Regions from separate parts of the Homo sapiens genome. Here region 1 is linked to region 2. Evidence: promoter capture Hi-C in human tissues and cell types (Jung and others, 2019). All regions are on one chromosome and are shown on one strand. The core of a region is centred on a gene start or on the middle of the fragment in contact, and the rest is flanking DNA. Distances in the headings are between cores, read along the strand shown. Region 1 overlaps TRIP13 (thyroid hormone receptor interactor 13). Region 2 holds the start of LRRC14B (leucine rich repeat containing 14B).

Region 1 (5,782 bases), core at 7-2,506, 720 kb before region 2:
GTCCTGAATGTCAGAAACAGCTGCGGGGGTGGGCAGGGGAGCACCAAGGCAGCCACCCACACACTGAGAAGGATGAGAAGCTGTAGGGAGCAGACCCTGGAGGGCCCACCCTATGTCCCAGGCTTATAACCAGAGAATTCCCATGGCCCAGTGCCCAGAGCTGTCACCTCCCCTGCATCAAAAGGCTCCCACTCATGATCCATGGCCACTGTCACCTCTGTGCTGAGCACTGTGTCCAGCACAGAGGCTGCTACTGATCAGACAGAGCCTGAGTCACTTCTGATTTGAAAGGAAACATTCCAAGATGGGGGTTTTCTCTTCTCAGATGTAAGTGTATCTGCTCTGCCAGACACTGAGTCCTTACCCCAACCGGCTGCTGGGGACAGTGCAGGGGAGGGGTGAGTGCCCCAGGCCGAAGCATCTGCAACAGGCCCAGCACCCAGTGGGTGAGGCTGTGGATCCAGGTCACTGTTCTATGTGAGCTGAACCCAGACTGAAAGAGCACAAACCTCTGGTGAGGCCAGCGAGGGCCCTGGCCACGAGCTCAGCACACCACAGAGGCAGACGTGCATGTGTGTGCATGCATGCGTGTGAGCAGAGGCATGTGGCACAGCCGCCTCCTCCCAAAGGACTCAAGACAGCCCCTGTGTTTCGGTGCCAAGGTCAGCTCCTCCTCCGGCCCCAGGACCCTGTGGTTTAGAAACTGAGATAAAATGAGGCTGATACCCCAGGGCTACTAAGCGGAATCTCCGGCGAGGCTGAGACCTGTGGACAGGGCGGGTGCTGGAGGACAGCAGTGGAGACTCACCTGGACATACAGCGCATGAGCCAGAAAGGGGAGTTTTCTCAGGACCCGGCCGCTGAGGCCCTCGCTCTTCCTGTGTAAAGAAAACCCAGTTCAGAGACAGCAATTTATACAATCACACGTTTCAGGACTAATTTTCCTCATTGGCCGAGGCATCCCTGGGAACACAAGCCGAGGCGTCCCAAGCACACCCTGGGTTCACAGGGCACTTCCTGCCCCTCACTGGTCTCCTGAGCCTTGCCCTCTGAATGTCTCTTTGCCCCCGGCCTCTCGTATGGGGCCGGTCTCTCCCCATCCTCAGCTCCTGCTCTGGGAGGCAGTGTCCTCGCGGCTCTGAAGCACACCCAAGGCACACCTGTGTGCTCTGCCCCAGGGCCAGCATCCTTGTGCTCAGGGAAGGCATCACCTGCCCGGGAGCCTCTGCCCCAGGGCCAGCATCCTTGCGCTCAGGGAATGCATCACCTGCCCGGGAGCCTCTGCCCCAGGGCCAGCATCCTTGCGCTCAGGGAATGCATCACCTGCCTGGGAGCCTCTGCCCCAGGGCCAGCATCCTTGCGCTCAGGGAAGGCATCACCTGCCCGGGAGCCTCTGCCCCAGGGCCAGCATCCTTGCGCTCAGGGAAGGCATCACCTGCCTGGGAGCACCAGGCGTAAGGCACGATGCAGCGGGCACATGGTCAGTAGGCACAGAGTCCCCAAATAATGGGTGGGTTCACATCTTCAATTTTTGTAGAAGTCTCTGAACTGTTCTTCGTTCCCATCTTAACTGATTTAAATCTCTTCAACAGATAATCCAAATCCTTAAAAAATACTACATTCTTCATGTTATCCCTTGTTTAAAGCCTTCCACATTCTTGCCAACTTCAAAATAAAATTCAAACTCTGGCCAGAAACCCGAGGCTCTGTCCATTCCACCCCCCGCCTCTCCGGCACCTCCCCAGCCTCCACACTGCAACCCACTAGACGGTCACCTGAACACACTGCTCCAGCAGCCTTCCTGATTTCTCTCCAGCTGGAACCAAATTCTATCCTTCAAGGCACCGTTTGATTTTCCTACCTTCCCTTCCACCCTCCCTGGACCCCCAAAGCCATTTCCTTTCTGTGGACTCTGCGAATCCTTGTAAGTGTCGTCAGCCGTAGGGTTGCAGGCTTCCAGTGTGAGCCAGCGCCCTCCCTGAGCAAGGGTTACATCTCCTTTGGAAGGAGGTGGCTGTGCTGCGTGTTTCTACTCACATGCACACACACACACACACACACGTGTGTACATGCATGTTCATACCTATACTGTGTTGAGAGTTCACACCCAGGGCCCTCCCTGGTCTCCTCAAAGGAAACAATGACTCCCTAGTTAATATCACAAATGGATTCTTCTTGATTACAAAAATGAGGTCAATTTGCACCTTGAAATGTCATTCAAAAGAAGGCTCAATTTTGACACGTTGTTTTCAATGAAGCCAATCATCTCTAGCTCTCGGAGGGTCAGCAGCTGCTGGCGAGGGTATATGATCTGACACTGGGGAGACAGAAGTACAGGCGGTTAGCTGAGTCCACAGAGGCCTGAGCGTAGGCACCGTCAGCAAGAGGGACAGCACCTGCAGGTCAAATGTCAACCACGCCACGTCTCACAGAAATCCAGACGGTGACGACTCAAGATGCACAGCTGCACTAGGGAACAAGCTCGCTCTCTCATGCCTCTCAGCGTACACATTCTGCTTTTTCAAACAAATACAAATAACGGAACATGCCTCAGAAACCAGTAGCAACATAGCCTCTTCTGTGTTTCGAGCCAAAACTTTTCCTCCCTGTGTGTCAGGAAGGGAAGGGACCTGGAGGCACCCAGTCCAGTCTGTTATGCCACCTTCGGAGACGTCAAAACCCACAGTGGGCAGAGCTGGGACTTAGAGCCAGGACTTCCACTGACTTCCAAAGCAGGATCCTAGTTTGTCTGTTTTAAAGGTGAGGCTTGTTTGGCAGCATGACAGTGTCTGACTGACCGAGGAGCTGAGCACCAGAAGTTCCCCTCAGAGATCATTTGTCTGGAAGTCATGCTTTTCCAAGCAGCCTTGCCAACAGTCAGGTGCGCACACTGACTTACTATGACTGAATTCTAATACGAACCGTTCTGACTCAGGAACAAGGAGAAGGAAGAAAATAGCATTGTCTGAACATTTTGGAGGTTTGTTGAGGGGTGTGAGCAAAATTAAGACAGTTTGTGCTTGTGCTTTGGGGGATATTGAGCTTTCGAGACCAGTTCAATATCCACTGTGACATCTGCATGTCTTAATTTCATATAAACTGCCTAAAATAAGAAACTACCCCTATCACTGGGCACGGTGGCTCACGCCTGTAACCTCAGCACTTTGGAAGGCTGAGGTGGGCGGATCACTTGAGGTCAGGAGTTTGAGACCAGCCAGGCCAACATGATGAAACCCTTTCTCTACTGAAAATACAAAAATTAGCCAGGTGTGGTGGCATGCACCTGTAATCCCAGCTACTCACGAAGCTGAGGCACGAGAATCGCTTGAACCCAGGAGGCGGAGGTTGCAGTGAGCTGCGATGGCACCACTGTACTCCAGCTCTAGGTAAGAGTGAGACTGTGTCTCAAAATAAACAAACAAACAAAAAACTACCCCTGTCCTACACTGTCCCAGAAAAAGTCCATCCCTCTTAGCTAACACTTTAAACAGCCCCTGGATTCACAGCACGAGTGTACAAGTGTATAAACGTCACACTGCGAGGGCTGGAACCCACACTGAAGGTGCGTGAGGACCTCCAACACACACGACTTCCTCGCAGGATCTGCTATCACGTGGGGCTCCTTGGCAGCAAAACTGCTGTAGAATCAGTCTTCAGATCACTGGCATTCTCCAGGCAAAGCTCCACAGAGCTCCGTCTCCTTTCCCCAACCCCCAAGAAAACCATGCCTGGACAGTGCTGACCCGGGCAGGCCCAGTGGGTCCATGGCTGAGACCAGTTCTCCCGTCCCCAACCACAGCAGGGTGTGCCATCCTTGTTAACACCCCTACTCTGTGGTACCAGCAGGTGGCAACAACTGCATTAAACTCATCACTGTTTAAATCCCCATTCACTGGTTTGCTTGGTTACCGCCCAACTACCCTAAACAAAGGCCCCTGCAGGATGATTTGTCTGGGACAGGTCTGTTCCCACAGGGGCTAGAGCAGCAGAAACACAAGCATGGGGCAGGTCCCTGCTAGCCTGACTCACACACACCGCAGCGTCACTGCCCATGGCGACGGCGTTCCAGACTCACGCACACTCACCACACGCGTCACTGTGCCCATGGCGACGGCCTTACTGACTCACACTCACCGCACATGTCATTGTGCCCGTGGCGACGGCCCTCCTGACTCACACTCACCGCACGTCACTGTGCCCGTGGCGACGGCCCTCCTGACTCACACACGCTCCCCGCACGCGTCGCTCTGCCCGTGGCGACGGCCTTCCTGACTCACACACACAACCCGCACGCGTCGCTCTGCCCACGGCAACAGTGTTCCTGCCTATCATCACAACAGGCGACTCAAGAACGTGACGTCATGTGGACCCCGTGACCAAAACCAGGCCCATACTACGCCCGTGATGTTTCCTCTTTCAGGTAAGGATACAGGCCCCCGAGAGGCAGGGCATTGGAAAAGCCCGGGGTAAGCTGAGAACTAAGGTTTGTGCAGCCAGCCAGGTAAACACAGCCGGTCACTGACGTCCCCTACACTGACTGGTACCTCAAATAATGAACAATGATGACTGTATTGTGCCAAAAGAACAAAAATATTGAGTCAGTGGCCCTAGTTTCAACTATCAGCTCAACCTGTCACATACAAAACTAGTTTTCAATTTAAGAAGGGAGTTAATGCATATGTTGAAATCCTCCGTACTGGAACGAGCTTATTTTAAGCTATCTTAATTAATTAAGAACATATAAGAAATCCATTTGTATCAAGAGGAAAAAAAAAATAAAGGTACCTTCATCAGTTCTTCCAAACAAGAGAGGTAGATTTTGAAGATGGCTGCTGCAGAGGGTGGCCCAATGTACTGCTTGATGTCAGCCCTGTCCACGAAGGCCACGTCGATCTTCTCGGTGATGTTAGAAGTGGTCAGAATCACAACATTGGAATGCCTGTTGTGGCCGAGAAGCAAGCACCACAGTCATCACGGCTGTCGGTGACCCAATTCTATCCTGCCCTATCTGGCAAGGAGGTTGGCAGGACGATGGCCAGCAGGCTGCCAACAGGAAGGAAAGTGGCCTTGTGCCAACACAGGCCACGCAGACCCCCCAGCCTTTGCTCTCGCTGCTCCTTGGCCTTCTGGGAATTCTACAGCCCCACTTCGCTCATTCCCTCACTGCCTTCAACCTTGGCAAGGATCTCACTTTCCTTTTTTTTTTTTTTTGAGACAGAGTCTCGCTCTTTCGCCCAGGCTGGAGTGCAGTGGTGCTATCTCGGCTCACTGCAAGCTCCGCCTCGCCGGTTCACACCATTCTCCTGCCTCAGCCTCCCAAGTAGCCGGGACTACAGGCGCCCGCCACCGTGCCCGGCTAATTTTTTGTATTTTTAGTGGAGACGGGGTTTCACCGTGTTAGCCAGGATGGTCTCGATCTCCTGACCTCGTGATCCGCCTGCCTCGGCCTCCCAAAGTGCTGGGATTACAGGCGTAAGCCACCGCGCCCGGCCTAGCAAGGATCTCACTTTCGCATGGCGTTCCTGATTGTGCCACCTACCGTGGGCTCTGGTGCCCACCACCACCTGGGCATGGCCACTCATCATCCCTAGACATACTCTAGAGCTGGGTTACTTCCCATGTTCATGATCTGCTCTCCCCTCTAGCGTCTAAACTCCATAGAGAGAGCCCCTGTTGTCTGGTCTGTTGACCAATGTCCCCCAAGGACCCAGCATGAGCCAGCAGAGCGGGCACAAGGTGCCCCCAGGGAGCATGCTGCACAGGCCTGGGGGGCGTGGCTGCA
Region 2 (5,983 bases), core at 3,220-5,719:
CCAGAAGCCCCGCGTTCCCTGCAGGCCCACCTCATCCCGTAAGCGGCAGGTCCAGACAGCGGGTTGTGACCAGCAGTGGGTGGGAGCCTCCTGCTGGAGGAAGCAGGGTCCGGTTTGCTGTTCATTTTTCGCCTCTTTTTCTCGGTTGTTTTTCATGGGCTGCTTATTTTGTGCAGTTTCTGTGATGTGTTCTCTCTTCCCCTCCCCCTCCCTGCTGTGGAGCCCAGTCACATCTGCCCCCTGAAGCTTCATCTTGCGCCCAGTGCCCAGATGCGCTGAGGCCAGGTCGGCCACTCCTCACACCTCCCGGGCTTCTCTGCTCTTTGCCATGTGGCGTCTGCCCCCGCTGACCCTGTCACTGTCTCTTGGTGGCTTCCCCCGCCTCCAGAACCTTGCCGTGCTGCCACTAAAGGGCACCGCATGGCACCTCTCCTGGAAGGCTTCCTCTTCTACAACGCTTAACAGGCTCGCCTACAATTTTCACTAAGAACTGCTTTTGGTGGTGGTGGTGGTGGGGATGAATGCCGGGCCCAAGCCTCAGATCCAGGACTAAAGCCCGGGGCACCTGCAGGCTGAAATGCAAGACCTGTCACTGGTGCGAGTGGAGGAACTACTCTATTTGTTTGAGTGCTCTGGAGAAGTTTTCTAGAGCAGTTTTGAAAGCTTGCAGCAAGAAAGCACCAAGCTCATTGCTTGTTTCTTGAATGTCTGGGTCAAAACTTCCAAAGAGAGGTGTGGAGACTTGGATGTCCTCTCGGTCAGCCCGCAGCAGCACGGCACGCAGCTCCTCGGCGATCTCGTCGTATTTCTGCTGGTTGAACTTGGACATGGCCAGCTCGTCCTGTGGGTAGGCGGCACCCTCGGGGTAGCAGTCCTTGGGCACCGGGAACTCAATGCAGCGCAGCTCGGGGAGCTCACAGAGTGCGGTGAAGAGGCGCCGGAGGGCGCGGGCCGACAGCGGGTTCCCGAGGAACTTGAGCTGGCGCAGCCGGTGGCAGGGGCTCAGGCCCAGGATCAGCATGCCAACGTGGCTGTCTACGATGCCACACTCCTCCAGTGTCAGGATCCTCAGCGTCCGGGAAGCCTGGCTGAGCAGCCTGAAGAAGGTCGAGGGGTACAGGCTGACCAGGTTGTGTCCACTGAGGTCCAGCACCTCCAGGTGGGCAGCGTGGGCACAGTCTGCCAAGAAGGCCATGTCCGTGTGGTTCAGGGCACAGTTGGCCAGGTCCAGTACTCGCAGCGGGGTCTGTAGGGGGCTGCAGGACACGGGGGAAAGAGCACAGGTGAGAGGAGGGTCCCAGGAAGGAGCCGAGGGCTCAGGCGAATGGGAACAACCCATTTGTCCATCATGGGGTCAACACACAGTCACGTCCAACCACCGCCTAATTTCATACAGCCTATGAGCTAGGAGTGGTTGTTATATTTATATAATAGTTTGTGAAACGTGAAAAGTTACATGATATTCAAACTCGGTGTCCATAAATAACATTTTACCAGAGCACAACCACGTGCATTCGCTTAGTGTTGGCCATGACTGCCGGCCGCCACGTGGTGAAGTCAGCTATACCCAGAGGTCTGGCTTTTGTCCTCAGCACCTAAATGGTAAGTTTGTTTTGTCAACAGCTGCTTTTGTGTTGTCTGAGAAAAGTGATGCATGTGACCACGAGAACGTCCACTCAGAAAGTGGACGGGGTGGGGCAGTGAGACCACAGGACAGAATGTCAGCTCAGAAAGCAGACGGCGGGGGGCAGTGAGACCACAGGACAGAATGTCTGCTCAGAAAGCAGACGGCGGGGGGCAGTGAGACCACAGGACAGTGCCGCTCCACTCTGACAAAGATGAATCCCGCATGGTTTCAGAGCTGGGAAGGGCCATGGAGGCTTCCAGTACAGCCTTTGACTCACCTGGGAACCCTAAAGACCCCCCAACTTGCCCCACATCCCATATTCTGACTTGGTTGGTGTAGGGCAGCCTAGCTCTAATACAGGGGCAGTTGGAGTGAGACCTACTCTGGTTCTGAGCTAAGGGAGATCTCCAGAGCAGAACTGCATCGGGACATGGCCTCACTGTCCTCGCTGAGCCGGGGGACACAGCTGGGGTCTGCCCCATCCCAACCCTCTCCTTAGGAGGCTGCCTCACTCTTCACCCACCTGCACCTGCACCCACCTGCATGTCCCGCCCAGGACATGTCCCTCCCCACCCAGGACTGGGACCACTGCCAGGTGCCCCTGTCCCACCTGAGAAACCACGCCAGGCATGCCCCCTGCCCAAGGTCCCACCGCAGGGCACCTCTATCCCTCAGGACCCACCGCAGGGCACCCCCATCCTTCAGGACCCACCGCCAGGCATCCCCCACCAGGATCTACTGCCTGGTGCCACCCCAGGACCCACAGCCAGCCACCCCCCACCCCAGGACTCACCACCAGGTGCCCCCACTTCAGGACCCACCACCAGGCACCCCTACCACCGCCAGGCACTTCTCCCCAAAACCCACTGCCAAACGCCCCACCAGGACCCACTGCCATGTGCCCCCAGCCCCCAGAACCCACCGCCAGGCACCCCCCAGCACCTGAGGACCCACCTCTAGGTGCTTCCCCAGTACCTACCAGGCACCCCTTCCCCCTAGACCCACTGCCAGGTCCCACCCCCAGGACCCAAAACTGGGTGCCCCCCGGACCCACCGCTAGGTTGCCCCACCAGGACCCATCACCCGGTGACCCCAATACCCACCGCCAGCTGCCCCTCCTTCAGGACCCACCACCAGGCTCCCTCCCAGCACCCATTGCCAGGCACCCCGTTCCCCAGGACCCATCACTGGGCACCCCCCTTGGACCCACCGCTAGGCACTCCCCCTCCAGGATCCACTGCTGGGCACCCCCCTTGGACCCACCGCCGGGCATCCCCCTCACCACTGCCTGAGGCTGCCTTGGCCTGGCCCCTTCCTAGCTGCTGCCCTCTCTGCCTCCTTCACGCAGATCTGCTGAGAGGATCCTGCATAAGCCTCCTGTCCCACCATGGGGAGGTCCATGCAGCATGGAGCCCAGGCCTCCCTCGAGGGAGACTGGGAGGATCCCGCCCTGTCAGGCCTTCGGATGAGATGGCACCCTTGGCCAACAGCAGCCCTGAGCCAAAGGCACCGACAGGCTCAGATTTCTGAGCTGAAATCGTGTTTGCTGTTTGAAGCCCCCAAGTGTTGGGGTGAGTCGTTCATCAACAATAGACAACTCCTCACACCACGTAGGCACTTCTGTTTCGTCTGTTTGGTAATTTCCGTATTCTCTTTTTTTAACTGGCATTCTCTCCACATCCCTAAGTCACACATGGCAGCCCGCTTCTTTCCTGGTGGCTCTGACTTTCGGTGCTCTTGCCCCTTGGCGGGGCCGCTGTCCTGTGGCTGTGGCCACACCCGGAGTGAGAGGCTGGAGGCCGTGTAGCCTCATGGCCTTGGACATGAGCAGGCCCCTGGACGATCTCTCCTTGCCTCTGCAGCCACCAGCCCGCCCTCAGTCCCCTCCCCAAGACTCACCCAAGCAGCGTCGGGATCTTCCCGGTCAGCGTGGAGAAGGCCACACTGAGCTCAGTGAGCTGCGCCATCTTGCTGAGCTCCCGGGCGATGGAGGCGAGGAGGGGGTCCTCGCCGTCGGGAGTGGAGGCGTAGGTGGGGGGTGCATCAAAGGCCTTGGTGGGCAGGGTGAGCGAGGCCAGCCGGGGGAAGCCCACCTGGGCCAGAAGCTGCTGCACGTGGCCCGCATGCAGCCGCACGTTGTGCACCACCTCCAGCTTGCGCAGGGCACCCGGGCCAGCCAGACGCAGCACGTGCAGGAGCTGGCTGGGGCTCAGGCTGTCCGCCCGGAACGAGGGGCAGTGCACCCGCAGAGGGGCCGGGCCCGCTGGCCTCAGAGCCTGCACCACCGCCTCGAAGTTGCCCTCAGTGACGAAGAGGTCGGCGAGGACCTCGACGGGGCGCCCGGCTGCGAGGGGCTCTGCCTGCAGCTCACAGCAGGTCCTGGCCAGCAGCTGGGTGCGGCCCCACCTGCCCAGCGCCCTCCCGCACGGGCACCGCTGCACCTGCACATCTCGGATGCCCGTGAGGTCAGCCACCCGCAGCCGCCGGCGGCTCCGGTCCTGCAGCACGTGGTCCGCGAGGCCGCGCACCAGCGCCTCCAGGCAGGCCCTGCAGGTTCTGTCGCGCAGGTCCTGGGGGTGGTCGGCACCAGGACCCAGCAGCGCTCCCAGCCGGAACTCCTCCAGGGGCCAGCGCCCCAGCACCGCGCGCGTCACCTCCGCCTGCTCCAGCAGGTAGCTGGCTTTGAACAGGAGTGGGTAGAGGTTGTGGGCCACGCTGTCCAGGCTCTGCCGGGCCACCTGGGGGTGGGACACCAGAGCTTCTGCAGAAATGAAGCGGAGTGACCTCATTGTGTCCATGGCCCGAGACAGGACCGCTCCCCACGACTTTCCCCAAGGCGTGTGCCCTTCACGCCTATCTTTAGCTGCAGCAGCTGTGAGCAGCCTGCCCTGGGGGCCCTGCCACGGGGCCTTATGATCATCTGACTGCTATTTTGGTCCTGGGACACCTGCGTCTGCCCGGCCTCGGGGCACGCAGCCGTTGGGAGCTGCTTGGCTCAGGCACCCAGCCGTTGGGAGCTGCTTGGCTCAGGCACCCAGCCGTTGGGAGCTGCTTGGCTCAGGCACCCAGCCGACACAGAAAGGCAGCCCGTGCCCATGGCAGGGCTGGGCAGAGAAGCCTGTGCTCCATGCTGCAGAAAGCCAGTCTTGGCAGGCGTTCGTGCTGGCGGCCGGTGAGGCCAGCGGGCAGGTCCTGTTTACCATCCAAGCGGGGCTACTGCCCAGCTCTGGGCACCTCCCCCACCAGTCAACGGGGCAGAGAACAGGCCAGGCCCCTGCGCCTCACTCGGTAACCAGTTCCCTTTCCACAGTGGCCTCTGGGGCCGCTCCCACACTTCGCCTCGCATCTGGGGTGAGACGAGTGGCCAGGAATGGAGCTGCTGTTTTGCCCCTTCCCTGTGCCTTTCCTTCTCCCCAAGGACCCGGCGGGGGTGGCTTCCCTACTTTCCATGGGAGAGAGTGGCTGGGAGAGGTGGAGCCTCCCTGATGGCCTCGGATGAGCCCCCAGCTCTCTCTGAGCTGCAGTGTCCTGTCTGCAACCCTGCCGCCTGTGCGGCAGGGAAAGCTGCAGGGAATGGGATACACCTGTGTTGGGGGGCGGTGCCTGATGGTTCACTCCCAGCACTGACCGTGTTGGACAGCTGATGGGTGCTGCACTCACCTCTCCCCGTGACACTGCCACTCAGGGCAGGGTCAGCACACATCGCTGCACACATCACTGCACACATCACTACAGGGCACCACGTGTCCATGGGCTTTGGAGGGTCACGGCCATGAGACAGAGGCTGAGGGAGACTGAGAGAAGTGAGTGACGGAGACTGAGACAGAGACAGAGGGACAGAAACTAAGAGGGAGAGAGACAGAGACTGAGGGAGAGAGAAAGGGAAACAGAAAGAGACAGACTGAGAGAGAGACAGAAAGGGAGAGACAGAGACTAAGAGAGAGAGAGAGAGACTGGTAGGCAGAGACAGAGACTGAGAAAGACAGACAGACGGGGAGACAGAAAGAGAAACAGCAGTGGGAGGGGGAAGGCTGCTGAGCAAGCTTGGAGGGTGCTGGTCATGGGTGCCCCACCAGCCTCCCTGTCTGACCCTCCCCAGTTTGTTCCCTGAGCCTGAGCAATGCCTCTCCCCGGGAGGCGACCCATGCAGAAGGGACTGTGCTCCGTTGTGGGGCCCAGGCACTGTCCAGCAGGCGGAGGTGTGTGTGAAGAGGTGGGTGGGCCCTGACCCCACCCTTCAGGGGTGGCCGCCCTCGGCCAGCCGATGTGGGCCCCCGGGCTCCCCTCATGAGGTGCACAAGAGGTTTCCCCAGACACACGGCCCCTTTCCAGGACCAGATAAGAGAATCTCGAAGG

What was found. Contacts are between HindIII fragments. The study calls those that stand out against the background at their distance.
Region 1: a contact is called between a fragment that was not itself captured here and the fragment with the promoter of LRRC14B in region 2, in 2 of the 25 tissues and cell types used here (lymphoblastoid cells and mesenchymal stem cells).

What each region holds. Positions count from the first base shown.
Region 1 is chr5:911,000-916,781 of GRCh38, reverse strand. It overlaps TRIP13 (thyroid hormone receptor interactor 13), which reads right to left. Exons shown (of 13, transcript NM_004237.4): 10 at 4,786-4,939; 11 at 2,205-2,317; 12 at 809-878. Among named protein-coding and RNA genes, the nearest start is that of TRIP13, 21 kb to the right of the region's middle. The HindIII fragment of the contact is 4,728 bases long and covers 1-3,620 here.
Region 2 is chr5:189,981-195,963 of GRCh38, reverse strand. LRRC14B (leucine rich repeat containing 14B) reads right to left here and starts at 4,469. Exons shown (of 2, transcript NM_001080478.3): 1 at 3,527-4,469; 2 at 1-1,256. The coding sequence starts at 4,425. The coding sequence ends at 611. It overlaps LOC124900929 (a long non-coding RNA gene), which reads left to right and starts at 1,237. Exons shown (of 2, transcript XR_007058670.1): 1 at 1,237-1,602; 2 at 2,976-3,236. RefSeq lists an enhancer at 4,755-4,804. The HindIII fragment of the contact is 15,773 bases long and covers 456-5,983 here.